Linked DNA regions of Homo sapiens: region 2 is linked to region 1. Evidence: promoter capture Hi-C in human tissues and cell types (Jung and others, 2019). All regions are on one chromosome and are shown on one strand. Each heading gives the region's core, a stretch centred on a gene start or on the middle of the fragment in contact. The rest is flanking DNA. Distances are from core to core; before and after follow the strand shown.

Region 1 (2,700 bases), core at 20-2,519:
TTTTTTTCTATTCAGTGCAGCAAGGTTTTAAAACATTAATGTGTACTTCACGATTATGGCATCACATTCACCTGGTTCAGCATATTTTCCAACACTGCAGCAAGGCCAACTCTTTTCCAGACGTATATTCCCCTATGCAATCATTTAACTACGTTCTCCACCCTATGCCCAATAGTCCCCTTCCCATATCAAGGAGGGAGTAGAGGTAAACAGATCAGGATCTGTATATTTCATTAGTGCCCCGTGGCTTCATTGGCCTTCTCTCTGACTCTGTGGATGCCCTGAGTATATTTAGAGACGTTCTATCAGGTTAGACAAGCCTCTATCCCTTTGGCCCTCACCAGGACTGCTGTCCCTGGTGCTGAACCATGTTTGCACACGGGTAGTTGGCTGTTGGGTCAATGGGACTGGATGCAAAACCTGGCTGACTGACCTTAAGAATGCCAGGTGCAGAAGCATGCGATGCCTTAGTACACAGGAACAGGGCCGCCCGCCGCCCCTCCCCCCAGCTCCCTCACACATATCTCTCCGGTGTGCGCCAGGACCCATTTGTAAATTTCTCCATCAGACCCCCACCCAAAATGCTTGCAACACGGCCTCAAATGCCGGCGTGTATCAGCACAGCCCACTCCGATATCAGATTGCAATAATGTCAAAATGCTACTCCCTAAATATTTAGTCTTTATGAGGTTACCTTTTCCACTCTAAAACCAAACAAAAAATAAAATAAAATCCAATAAATGAATACATTAACGAAAGTGACCTTCCACTTTCCTCCCTCCAGTCCCCGCCCCATATATTCGCTCTCTCCTAAATTGTAAAGCCGCACATCCTAGGAGAGTGTTTTAAATCTGGGTGGTCTCCCGAGTTACCCCTCCCCACACCTTCCCCCCACCTCTTCAGAACAAAACGACGCCAAAAAGGGCACATCTTACCCAGGGTAGAGCGACAGCAGGAGCAGAATCCACACCGTCATTTTCTGTGAAAATACAGGAGTCGAGTAGACTGAGCTTCCTGTGCTCCATATATTTGGCGAACTCATCGCTTTTTTTTTTTTCCTTCTCTCGCCTCTTGCCTCTTGGTTGCAGAAGAATCCCTCCCCTTTGTATTATTCTTATGCTTATGATCTGATGGTGGCTCCCCCCACCTGCCTCTAGTAGGTCCTTCACTGGGGAGATGGATTGCTACCAGATTAGGGAATTAATATTCAGGGGGCAGAGATAAGATCAGCAAAAACGCTTGCAGATACCATCAAAGCGTCACTCTGGCAGCGGCTTCCAAGTCTGGGGGAGTAATATCATCGAGGCAGGGGGAGGGTACAAGGAGAGACTCATACGGAGACAAATAAGGGAGAGGGAAAGACACGCACACTCGTGTATACTCATGCCCCTCACACTTACGCGTTCTCCCCTGGGTCCATCTCTTTGGGGTTATTTATTTGTTTGTTTTGATTTTTTTTCTTTTACAGGGGGCAGAGCCCTGTGGGTGTGTGTATTTAAAATAAATAGGAAAAAAATCACTAGAGACTCTGCGTGATTAACTATCACGCAGATTAACTATGAGGTCAAAGTGGAAGTGATGCACGCTGCTGCAGCACGAATTAACACATGCGTGGTGTCTTTCCAAAGCTTTTTAACCCTTTACTGCACACACCAGCATGCAAGGACTGGCATTCATGGGGACAAGAGATGCTTTAGCAAGCCCAGAAGCTACATCATCAATGACAGAAGGTTTGTGGTCGTCAGATCTGCCAAGAATCCTTATTTTAAACTCGTACAGTCTTAGAAATCATGGTTGCATTGTTAGAGCTGGGGGAGCAGACAGTGGGGGAGGTGTGAGTGTCTCAGTAAGTCATCCTGTAGGCAGACAGATTTGGTGAATTCAATTTGAATGAGAGAAGAAAACATTGATAGAATTAAAGGACATGGAGAAATTCTATGCTACTCAAGATTCATTCCTCCCTTGTCAGTTCTCCAACCCCAGTGAAAATGCACAGACACAAAACTGCTTGAAGTTTGACAAATGTAATTGCGTGGGGATAGCTGCTTGAATAAAGATTACACATCACAAAATAGGAGGGCTGTTTTTTGAAGGAAGGGTGGGCAGAGGGGTATAATCAGGAGGTCATTTAACAATGCAAAGGGATTTCTGTTTGTCATGTGGGGGGTTGATTTTTTGTTCTTGGTAATAATCCCGAAAGTTTTTAGTTTGGATGAGTGGTATTAGTATGCTTCTTTCTTGCCTAGAATGTTACTATAGATACTAATATGTAGAAGATACCCCCTTTATGCCAAACCAGTTCATCCACCACAGAGGAAATCCCTTTCATTAATCATGAAAAATAAAGTGGGGGAGTGTTTCATGGTTCTTTAAAGTCAAGATACCACATTGAAAGTATGCAGGAAGCAGTAGTAGTGATGAGGAACAATCTTAGCTCTTTGTGGAAAGTGACAAGGAGTTGTTTCAAAATAAGTGCCTTTTTTGCAAGAAAAAAGTCTTCCAGGAATGGAACTTGGGTAAGGAGTCTAGGAGACATAGGAATAGAACATGAGAAAATCAGGTCCACACTCCATCACTAACACTAAAGTATATCCAAGGAAAGCAGAAAGAATTACCAGTGGCTGCTGCCCATCACATGGGCTGAGGAGATGCATCCTGACAATGAAGCAAAAAAGTCCTGACAGACCCACCTGGAATCCT
Region 2 (2,729 bases), core at 160-2,659, 460 kb before region 1:
TAGGCAATGTATCACTATGCTCTGTAATGACATATTTCTAGAGCAAGGATATGTTCTATAAATGAACTTCTTCATCGAACTTACATAGCACCGTTTTATACACATTTGGCTGCTTCAGAAAGAGCCAAGGACTTCACCTGATCATTGGGGCTCTTCCTAAGACACCTCAAGGGAGAGTCCTTTAATATGTGGCTTCCTGTCATTCCCATGGCCAACAAATCAGGCCAACCAATCAGGCCATACCACCACAGGCAACACAGTTTTAACAGCATGGGCCTTGGAACCAGACAAACCTAGACTGGAATCTTGTAATCACCTACTGCTAACAGCATAACCTTGGATGAGTTACAATCCTATCTAGATTTTAGTGTCCTCATTTGTAAAATGGGATTAGTAACACCTAGCTCCTTGGTTTGTTGTAGGAATTAAGTAAAATGATTAAGGAAAAAATAATAAGCCATTAATTGAGATGCATTTATAAATAACTCTTGAGCTCAGCACAGGAAAGAATTCTGATGGATTGGTGATGTTTCTGACAGCATAGGATAGGGAATGGCAGTGCAATTTGCAATCTCATATTTCTCACTTTCAAATCTTACAAGGTCATTGTCATTGGTTTCTTTGAGCTCTGGCTTGAGAAAAAAGGAGAACATAGTTCTACGGATGGAGGATGATTCTATTTACAGAGGTTAGATTTTTTTTTTATTGTAAACTTATGATAAAAGGAATTTAAGTTTAATGTAGGCAAGAGATTACCAGAAGTATGGGAAAAATAATCCCAAGAGAGATTTGGAATTATTTAGGAATTTTAAGAGTAAACTAACTGGCCGGTCGTGTTGGCTCACACCTGTAATCCTAGCACTTTGGGAAGCTGAGGCTAGTAGATTGCCTGAACTCAGGAGTTCAAGACCACCCTGGGCAACATGGTGAAACCCTGTCTCTACTAGAAATACAAAAAAAAGAAAAAATTTTCTGGGTGTGGTGGTGTGCACCTGTAGTCCCAGCTACTCGGGAAGCTAAGGCACGAGAATCACTTGAGCCCAGGAGGCAGAGGTTGCAGTGAGCCGAGATTGCACCAATTCACTCCAGCCTGGGTGACAGAGTGAGACTCCATCTCAAAAAAAAAAAAAAAGAGTAAGCCAACAAATATTAATACACATGTGCAAAGTCTAAGGGAAATCAGTCCAGAATAAAAATAAATAAAGGTAAATCTCAGAAAGCACCTTCAAGAAGGTGGATTAACGGGTCAGGCATGGTGGCTCACGCCTGTAATCCCAGCACTTTGGGAGGCTGAGGCAGAGGGACCACGAGGTCAGGAGATCGAGACCATCCTGGCTAGCATGGTGAAACCCCATCTCTACTAAAATAATTAAAAAATAATAAATAAAAAAAGAAGGAAAAGAAGGTGGATTAAAAGCACCAAGTAGTCTTATCCTCCACAAAGGGGAACCAAAATAGTGAGAAGATAACTGCAATGCAAATACATAAATACATAATGTAAGAAAGAACACTGGAATTCAACAGAGAAGCTACAGGAAACACCTAAAATAAGCACGGAGAGGGAAGCATGGCAGTCTGCTTCTCTGGGATCATCCGGTAGCCTGAAGAGATTCTCCATTGCAGTCAAGGATAAGTGAGTCACCCATAGAGCTTCACATTTCCACTATGGACTCTTGCATCCTGGGCATGGGAAAGCCCCTAGACCCTTGCAGTCCCTAAGACTAGCATAAGGAGTTGCATGGAGGCAGTATGAAAACATTGTTCCAGACAGGGAGCTCACACTGAGTCCAATACATTCTAAGCTAAGCAGCTACTGAAAGACAGCATATTTAGAGCCCAGCCTCCACCAGACTGCATCCTGCCTGGAGGTCCAACAGTGCTTGCATCCCCACATCTCTAGAGCCTTCAGAGATTCCCCACCTTCAGCCACCACCATGGCTGGATGCTGCATCCAGGGCTGAAGTATGAGCTTTTGGCAAATACCCTGTTGCCCCAGGAGTGATGTCACTTCACATTTTCATGCACTCTGAGGGCAAACTCTGCAACTAGCAGTAGCCATCACTACAAGCTGTCACATCCAGGGTTGAAACACAAGTGAAGCACATACTCCTCAGCTGTCTGCCTATGACTGTTGTCCCTGAAAGCACACCTGTTCTCCCCAATAGTAGGTCTACAGTGCAGCCACTGCTGCTGCCACCCTCACCCAGAGCATTCTGCTGTGGGCCTTGGGCTCAATCTGCTGCTGCCTACCACAGCCAGTGCCTATCCACACCACTTGGGTGCTGGAGGATGGGCCCACCAAGCCCTGCTTTACATTCTTATGCTGTTCAAGGGCCTGGGGACTTCCCTGCCCAGTCCACTACTGTTGACACCCGAGTGTTCCTCTTAAGGGACTGAGATCAGGCCCACCCAACCTGTTGCTACCATCACAGTTGGCACTAAACTGCACATGCTTCTGTGGGCCTGGAAACTGGCCCACCTTGCTCATTGCAGCCACTGCTAACACTGGCAAATACCACTTGGTTCCCAAAGGTTAGACACCCCACTGCTATTGCCATTGTCCACAACATGCAGGCTGCTAGAGGCCTGATAACCCACCACCAGCAAAGCCTATCAATGCCTAGAGGCTCAAAAATTCATCCCTCTGAACCATCTAAAACTGGTGCCAGTGTATTCAGCCCTAGGGACCAAGGACAGGCATGCTCTGCCTGCTGCTGCCACCACTGGTC

The links. The method cuts DNA at HindIII sites, captures the fragments that hold promoters and counts their contacts. A contact is called where the count stands out against the background at its distance.
Region 2: a contact is called between a fragment that was not itself captured here and the fragment with the promoter of GABRG2 in region 1, in 1 of the 25 tissues and cell types used here (heart left ventricle).

What each region holds. Positions count from the first base shown.
Region 1 is chr5:162,066,342-162,069,041 of GRCh38, reverse strand. It overlaps GABRG2 (gamma-aminobutyric acid type A receptor subunit gamma2), which reads right to left and starts at 1,269. Exons shown (of 10, transcript NM_198904.4): 1 at 936-1,269. The coding sequence starts at 1,042. The HindIII fragment of the contact is 5,062 bases long and covers 1-2,700 here.
Region 2 is chr5:162,524,998-162,527,726 of GRCh38, reverse strand. No RefSeq gene overlaps it. Among named protein-coding and RNA genes, the nearest start is that of GABRG2, 460 kb to the right of the region's middle. The HindIII fragment of the contact is 5,952 bases long and covers 1-2,729 here.